Regions from separate parts of the Homo sapiens genome. Here region 2 is linked to region 1. Evidence: promoter capture Hi-C in 16 types of primary human blood cells and fetal thymus (Javierre and others, 2016). All regions are on one chromosome and are shown on one strand. Each heading gives the region's core, a stretch centred on a gene start or on the middle of the fragment in contact. The rest is flanking DNA. Distances are from core to core; before and after follow the strand shown.

Region 1 (4,346 bases), core at 1,461-3,960:
AACAAGGGTGCCCCTCTCCTCTGTCCCATTCTTGGAGTGAACTGACATGTCCTGTCCTCTTCCCCCTGCCCCATTCCACTCTTTCCCCTCGTGTGCTTATTGTGGGGAAGTACGATACTATAAAGTACTTCACCTTATGACAGCAATACAGCAGCTAAGGCCCCGGCCATTCTCATTTTTTACCTCGAGCATTAAAGGCATAGAGAAGCTATGTGGTTGCACAGCCTCAGACCACAGTCCTTGGTCCTTGTCCCACACAGAACTTTGTTGGTGTTTTTCTTGAAAGAGGATGAAAAGGGTGTCGGATCACAAGGTCAGGAGTTCGAGACCAGCCTGGCCAACGTGATGAAACCCCATCTCTACTAAAGATGCAGAAAATTGGCCAGGTGTGGTGGCATGAGCCTGTAATCCCAGCTACTCAGGAGGCTGAGGCAGGATAATCGTTTGAACCCTGGAGGCGGAGGTTGCAGTGAGCCGAGATCACGCCATTGCACTCCAGCCTGGGTGACAGGGCAAGACTCCGTCTCAAAAAAAAAAAAAAAAAAAAAAAAAAGAAGGTGCTCTCTTGCAGCCTCCCGGACCCTGGATACCAGCGCAGGGACACATGGAAGTCCCCACACTTATTCTTGAGAAACTTCACAAAGGGATGGGGATGGGGAGAGGAGAGGTAGAGAGGGAGAGGCGTCTCAACAGCGGCAGGCATTCATCCATTTAAAAAGGTTATTGGTTGCTAAATAATAATGGTAACATCTCACATTTATGACCCACTTTTCATTTACATAAAAAAGATGACGACTGAAAATTGACTGTTGGATTTAGCTCTGTGGAACTCATGATGAACCTGACAAGAGGTTTTGGTAAAGCAGTGGGGGTTTTAGCCTGATTGAAGAGGGCTGGAAGGGAACTGGAGACAGCAAGTATAGACAACTGGTTTGAGGGTTTCTTTTCTTTTCTTTTCTTTCTTTCTTTTTCTGAGACAGGGTCTTACTCTGTCACCCAGGCTGGGGTGCAGTGGTGTGATCATAGTTCACTACAGCTGCAAACTCCTGGGCTCAAGTGATCTCTTGCCTCAGCCTTCCCACTGGCTGGGACCATCATGAGCACTGCCATGCACTAAAAGTTAGGCGCACCACCATGCCCAGCTAACTTTTGTATTTTTTTGTAAAGACAGGGTCTCACTATGCTGCCCAGGCTGGTCTCAAACTCCTGGGCTCAAGTGATCCTCTTCCCTTGGCCTCCCACAGTGCTGGGATTACAGGTGTAAGTCACCATGGCCAGCCACATCTGAGATTCTATGCTGCAAAAATAAGAAGTGAGATGGGGAGCTTTAGAGGAATGTAGGGTCAAGAGAGGGTTGTTTTAAGATGAAAAATATTTCAGCATGCTTGTAGGCTGATAGAAATGAATCGGTAAAGAGGGAAGCTGATGTTCCAGGAGAAAGAAGAAGATTGCTGGAGCGATGCTGGTGAGTAGTAGAGGGGCTGGAAATGCCCAGGCAGAGGGGTTGGGGTTGGATGGGCACAGGCACAGTTCATCAATGCCCAGTATACGGGCAGAGATGCAGACAGGAAGGTAGACTAGATGGCCGCACGTGGACGTTCCCTTCTTACTGTTTCTGTGTTCTTGCTGACATGGAAGACAAGCTGTCAGAGAGGAAAAGGTAGAGAGAATGAGGGAAATGCGGCCTACCAGGCAGTTTTTTTGTTTGTTTGCTTTTGTTTTGTTTTGTTTTGTTTTTAGATGGAGTTTCGATCTTGTCGCCCAGGCTGGAGTGCAGTGGTGCTATCTCGACTCACTGCAACATCCGCCTCCCGCGTTCAAGTGATTCTCCTGCCTCAGCCTCCCGAGTATCTGGGATTACAGGCGTACACCAAGACACCTGGCTAATTTTTGTATTTTTAGTAGAGACGGGGTTTCACCGTGTTGGTCAGGCTAGTCTCAAACGCCTGACCTTAGGTGATCCGCCCTCCTCGGCCTCCTAAAGTGCTGGGATTACAGGCGTGAGCCACCGCGCCCGGCCTCCTAGCAGGCAGTCTTACGGATTATGAATTTAAAACATGACCAGTCAGTAAGCATGGTTACGCTCTTTTTGTTTTTTCTTCAGCCCTGTAGGGCTGCCGGGGTGCAGGTGGAAAGTAGGGTATAACCACGGTTGGTTGGGGTTTTACAAGGCAAAAATCGATGAAATGAGAGAAGACTACCCGAGGGTGTAATCAAAGGAGCAGTCCTAATACGATGAGCCGGTATTCTTTGAATGAATGAATACATGGTTAAAGGCAGGTGATAAAGGCGATATGGTTGGCCATGCCAAAGCACTGAGAGCCTAGGAGCAGCGTGGCCAGAGTCTCCGGGAGTCGGCACCTGCCTCTCCTCGTTGTCTAGGCCTGACTGTCCCTGGCCTTGCACGGCCGCGCAGCGGGGCGACCGGCAGGGGGCGCGCTGGGATGGCCAGGAGCTCGGCTCTCCCCGCTCTGTCCCTGCTCTGCGGCCCGCCTCGCCCCTGCAAGTTTAAATTCCTCTTAGCAAGCCCAGCATCGCAGCCAATAACGCATCAGGGGGCGGAGCCGTAGAGGCTTGCGCCCCGCCTCGCTCCGCTATTGGAAGGAAAGCAGCCAATGGGAGAGCCGAGGCGGGGAGGTGCGGCCAATGGCGCGGGCCTGTTTGATTCAAAGGTTGCCTATAAAGCGGGACTGCACGCCGGTTTTTGTCCGAGGGCTGTCGAGTCCGAGCGCCGCCATGGCTCTGCTGTCCGAGGGCCTGGACGAGGTGCCCGCCGCCTGCCTGTCGCCGTGCGGGCCGCCCAACCCGACCGAGCTGTTCAGCGAGTCACGGCGCCTGGCTCTGGAGGAGCTGGTGGCGGGCGGCCCCGAAGCCTTCGCGGCCTTCCTGCGACGCGAGCGCCTGGCTCGTTTCCTGAACCCCGATGAGGTGCACGCCATTCTGCGCGCGGCGGAGAGGCCGGGAGAGGAGGGCGCGGCGGCGGCGGCGGCGGCCGAGGACTCGTTCGGCTCCTCGCACGACTGCTCTTCGGGCACCTACTTCCCCGAGCAGTCGGACCTGGAGCCACCGCTGTTGGAGCTTGGCTGGCCCGCCTTCTACCAGGGCGCCTACCGCGGCGCCACGCGTGTCGAGACGCACTTCCAGCCCCGCGGCGCTGGCGAAGGTGGCCCCTACGGCTGCAAGGACGCTCTGCGCCAGCAGCTCCGCTCGGCGCGAGAGGTGAGCGGCCCTCCAGGGCCCTGGGTCGCACGGGAGACCCCCTTCAAGAATGGGAAATTGAGGCCTGCTGGGAGTACGGGCCGGGGCCACTACCTCCTCTGCGCCCTACCGGAAGCGCGCGCGGGCTAGGTGGTCCCAGGGTCTCCGACTCACACCCCACTCTGCGTGTCTCCCCCGGATCCCCCGGGCCGCTCCTCGTGGCAGGGGATAGTGGGAAAGCCTCGGTTCCCAAGGATGCGAATTGTGCCCGGGTTCCATCTCCTAACGTTCATATCCCTGAAGGAGGGACCAGAAGTACTCTGAGTTCCAAATTTCAGTTAAAATCAAACTTGGAAAATTGCCTATTTCCCTGTCTGTCAGCCAACGCTAGATCCCACTTTCAGGAGCTTCTTAGGAGACTCATTACCAAAGAACTTACGCAGGGAAAGTTCCAGAAAGATGGTCTCCAGAGACAACTACGGGGCATTAGGAAGCAATTATTATTGCTAATTACTTTCATGCATCTTTTGCTGTAAAAAGCAGATAAACACGAGAGTGGCAAAGTGAGAGCCCTGCCGCTTTTTCTTTCTTGTCTTTTTTTTTTTTTTTTTTTTTTGAGACAGATTCTCTTTTGCCCAGGCTGGAGTGAAGTGGTGGGATCTCAGTTCACTGCAACCTCCGTCCCCCGGGTTCAAGTGACTCTCCTGCCTCAGCCTCCCAAGTAGCTGGGATTACCGGTGCCCGCCACCACGCCCGGCTAATTTTTGTATTTTTAGTAGAGACGGGGTTTCTCCATGTTGGCCAAGCTGGTCTCGAACTCCTGACCTCAGGTGATCCACCCGCCTCGGCCTCCCAAAGTGCTAGGATTACAGGCGTGAGCCACCGCACCCGGCCCCCTGCCGCTTTTTCTACTGCCAGAGACTGGAGGGGAAACTGGGGCAAGGGGTTTGTTTTCCATAGGCTGGGTCTGTGCCAGATTGCAGTGGTCTCCTAAAATGCAGATACATTTGCATTAGATCGGCTTCTGTATTCATAGTGGGTTTTGGTCCTACTGTCTGACTCTTAGTATGGCATGGTCATGGGTGCAATGGAGGTCTTGTCTGCTTGCCAGCCTCGATAAAGCTGCAGCAGGGTGCTGGGGATCAAGG
Region 2 (4,427 bases), core at 741-3,240, 110 kb before region 1:
AGGGGTGCTGCTAAATATCCTGTGGTGCACAGGAGAGCACCCCCACAACAGAAAATGATCTGATCCCAAATATCAATAGTGCTGAGGTTAAGAAAGACTACACTGGACGATGAGCCCCATAAGGTCCGTGACTGTGTCCAATTCATTCAGCTGTGTGTCTCCAGTTGGCCAGCGTGATCAGCATGATGTCCAGCACACAGGAGACAATCAATATGCATTAAAGGAATGAATGAGGACTTGGAAGGCCTTATGTCCCCTGGAGTCCCAGGGGTTTAGCTTGTGGAACATTTTGAATAGGCAGAAGAGATTTAGATGAACTTGAATGATGAACAGCCAATTAGTAACTCAGGCCAAAGACATTCAGACCGAGCTCTCTGTTTTCCTTCCCAAGCAGGTGCTTGGGGGCCCAGATTATCTGAATTGTTCCTGCCATCACCACTGCATTTTACCCATGTAGATACAGGACCCGTCTTTATCTGGAAAGTAGGCTGGGGCAGAGGAGCATAGGTGCTGTCAGCTGGGCCCTTGGGATTTGCCAAGCTGGGGCACAGCTGCTTGTCAGCTTCCTGTTTTGTCCCTTTCTAGTGGAATGAAGGAAACCCACTGAATGGCTATTTTCCACTGACATTTACAGCAATGTGATAGGCCTTGGATTAATGAGGTCAAACTGCAGTGTGAAATCTGCCTGATAACTTGAAGCTTGGCCAACGGGAAGACATCGCTTGTTTTCTTTGGACCGTTTGATGTCCCTGGATGGCTTTAGGCAGGAAAGCAGGGGTCTCAATTCTGTACGAAAGAGGAGGGTGTTTTACTTCCTGGAATTATAGAGGCCAGAGGTGTCTCTTTTTCAATTTATTGGGAAGGTTTATTTTAATATGGACTTAGAAATAAATAACTTATTAAAGTGAAGGTTCACCTGGAGCCTTAGGCTGGCTGCTAAGTGTGAGTCTGGGCTGTTGAAGGGACTGTGCTGTTCTTCTGGGTCTCTGTAGGAGTTTGAAGGAGAAGACTGGCCCCAAAGGGTGTTTGAACAGGTTAGATGTGCCCATTGGTTAGAACTTACTTGGATAGGGAGAAGGGATCTAGGGCGTATCCACAAACTTGCATATGGATCCCCTTTGGTTTCCTGCTAAAATGCAGAAACTGACTCAGTAGGGCTGGGTATGGAGTTTTCTGCATTTCTACCAAGCTCCCAGGGGGTGTCAAGCTGCTAGTCTGTGAACTGCACTTTGAGAAGCAAGGGTATGGGAGACCCCAAGTCTACAGGTGAGGGTTCCCTGGTGCAAACCGCTTAAGCATGAAAGCAAATGCAGCCTGTTGTGCCTGTTCACACAGCCATCTGCTGTGCTGGCTGGCTTGCGGAGTCACAGATGTTCACTGTGCCCCTTCTCTGTGTGCCCAGGCCTGGGACCAGACTTGACAAAGAGGATGCTTGGTCTCAAGGAGCAACTCAGACAGCCAGAATGTCAGCTAGAATGATGAGCTTTGAGTACTTTCAAAAACATGTATCCAGGTACATGGTGTTCCTGGGTCATCTGGTCACCTGGGACTTGTGAGAAGTACAGATGCCTGGGCCTTAGCCCAGTCCACCTGTGTTAGAATCAGCCAATATAGGGCCCTGAAAGTCTGTATTTTCTCAAAGTGTGCCAGGTGATTCTGATTCACAGCCAGACTGATGGAAGGGAAGGTGGGAGGAAGAACTGCCAGTACATGCAGGTTAATTGCTCAGCAGGACCTATGTAAGGTTGTAGAGTTGTGTATTGCTGATGGGCACAGTGGCACTCGGCTAAAGGAGAGGCTGAAATCTAGCCTGTGGATCCACTTGCCAAGCTCTGCACCCTGCAGGGTTGCATCTGCTTAGAGGGACGGGCACCTTTTTCTTAATATTCATCATAATCACTTGGTACTTATTATGAGCCAGGTGCTGTCTACTTAACTCCTTTAGTCCTCCTAACAACTCTAAGGGGTGACATCATCATCATCATCATTATTATTATTATTATTATTATTATTATTATTATTATTATTATTTTGAGACACAGTCTCACTCTGTCGTCCAGGCTGGAGGGCAGTGGTGCCATCTCGGCTCACGGCAACTTCTGCTTCCCGGGTTCAAGTGATTCTCCTGCCTCAGCCTCCTGAGTAGCTGAGATTACAGGCACCCGCCACCACTCCTGGCTACATTTTGTATTTTTAGTAGAGAAGGGGTTTCACCATGTTGGCCAGGCTGGTCTCAAACTCCTGACCTCAAGTGATCCACCCGGCTCGGCCTCCCAGGGTGTTGGGATTACAGGCATGAGCCACTGTGTCTGGCCAGGTGTGACTTTAGTGCTACTCTGATTTTACTGTTCAGGAAAGTGAAGCAGAGAGGTTCAATGTCTTACTCAAGGTCACACAGCCAGTAAATGGAAAAGTCAGGATTCCATTTCAGGACATCCGGCTTCAAAGTCCTTGTACTGAATCATTACACTCTCTGGCCCTTTCTTTGCATAAAAATGCTGTCTTCTCTTTATGGGGCTATCCCTACTCTGAGGGAGTACCTTTTTTCTTGTCCTTCCTTCAGAGGGGGGAAGGCTAGCAATGACCTTGGCTGGCTTTAGAGTCAGGTACGGGTTTGATTCCTACCTCCAGCACCTACTGCAACCTTGAGTAAGTTACATGTGTGTATTTGCTGAGCCACAATTTCCCCATATGTAAAACAGGAATAATAATAGTATAATATAAATTGATATGATTAGGCATTTAGCCTCTGCTTGGCAGGTAGGAGGTACCTGATACATGCCAACTATTCTTATGGCATTATTATCATTAGAGTTAGTCCCTAGGAGTATTCAGGAGCTAGGGAAATAGGTGAGCAAAGCACTGTGTCATTATGTCCCCAGGAGCTGGGTCATTCATTTTGTTCACTAGGTTACTTATGGCCATTACTTACCTGGGCATCCCTAGTCTCCTCCGCTTCTTGGCCCCAGAGTCTGTGCCAGCCTGGAGAGTTCTCAGAATGTCTTAGTTCAGACTCTTAGTCAGAACTGCCTTTGTTTCCTCACATCCAAGAACAAGTAAAACATACAAATTTTGACACTTATTCTCTTTAGGTCTCTTGACTCTTTTTGGTGACTTTCTCTGTCTCCTGTTTTCTTTCTGGAACTATTGCTGTCGTTGGCTATCCCATGGACTGGATAGAGAGGAAATGTTGCCTTATAAACATTGCCAATTACCTTATAAAAATATAGGGAAGATTTTCACCAAAATGTCATTCATTTTTTTTCTTTTATATATAAACTTAAGCTTTTGTTTTCCTATGGCTGTATGTCATGCTTTTTAATTACACAAAGTATATAAGTGTATCATAAGTAAACTTTCCCCATCTTCTCAGCCACTCATCCCTTTTCCCCGGAATAAATCTATAAATGTTTTATGTATTTTTCCATAAATTTCATATGCATATATAAACCCATATTCATTTACATGTTTATCCATTTTTCTTTTTAACACAACTATACAAAACTCTCCTGAGATCTTCTTTTTCAGCTAATTTATCTGAGCACATGCCAACACACAGATATACCTGGATCTTTAAGGCTATCTGATAGTCCAGTGATAAAAATGTACCATCATTTGTTTTCTAGTTTCTTGATGATGGCTAAGATAGTTTCCAGTTTTTTTCCTCCTACAAATGTATAATGTTGCAACATCCTTGTTTGAACAGTGTATATATCTTTGTATACTCTACATACTGATGATTTTATTCATAAGGAAAATTCCTGGCAGTTTCAACTGTGATAGACATTGCTAACCTGTTCTCCAAAGAGGCTGAACCAATTTCTGTTTCCTCAACAGTGTATGACTGTTTCCCCCATCTATTCTCCAGCACTGAGGATTAAGTAACTTTCATTTTTGTCAGTCTGACAGATATAAAGCAGAACATTTCTGCATAAGGTTCTACAGTAATTTTTAGATTTTATGACCCTTTGGATTATGCCTACATAATGATGATCAAATATTCAGAAACTACATTGTACCTGGCCTTAGGCTTGGAATTGGATACAAAATTAAATGAAACCAGCTTTTGCCCTCAGGTTGATCCCATCTCCTGGAGTTGGCAGACAAATGAACAAATAAAATGAGAGCAAAACTGTATGGTTCACATTGTGCTAGAGAAATGCATAAGCTTAGCTAACTTTTGTTTGATAAACTCTATATTCATTAATATCACAAATGAATTCATAAAATACCGTATGCATTATGTCCCAGGGTGTGAGGAGGCTTGAAATTCTCAAAAGAAAACAACTTGATTAGAAGCAAAAAGAAAAAAAAAAATAATGGAGCTTATCCTTAGTGGGGGCAGCAGAAGAAGTGGGAAGTTAGGAAGGGGTGAGTAATTTTAGAATAGTCTCTTTGGTAGTTTCCATGTTCACAAATAGGGTTTG

Evidence for each region. Contacts are between HindIII fragments. The CHiCAGO score rates a contact against its expected background, and 5 or more counts as called.
Region 2: a fragment that was not itself captured here is called in contact with the fragment with the promoter of FAM83D in region 1 in 4 of 17 cell types (naive B cells, total B cells, total CD8 T cells and 1 more); the score reaches 8.0 in naive B cells.

The regions. Positions count from the first base shown.
Region 1 is chr20:38,923,707-38,928,052 of GRCh38, forward strand. FAM83D (family with sequence similarity 83 member D) reads left to right here and starts at 2,711. Exons shown (of 4, transcript NM_030919.3): 1 at 2,711-3,219. The coding sequence starts at 2,737. RefSeq lists a silencer at 2,329-2,688 and enhancers at 2,799-2,898, 4,284-4,346. The HindIII fragment of the contact is 27,857 bases long and covers 1-4,346 here.
Region 2 is chr20:38,811,782-38,816,208 of GRCh38, forward strand. The region is part of intron 1 of PPP1R16B (protein phosphatase 1 regulatory subunit 16B); the gene reads left to right. Among named protein-coding and RNA genes, the nearest start is that of PPP1R16B, 8.3 kb to the left of the region's middle. The HindIII fragment of the contact is 2,586 bases long and covers 698-3,283 here.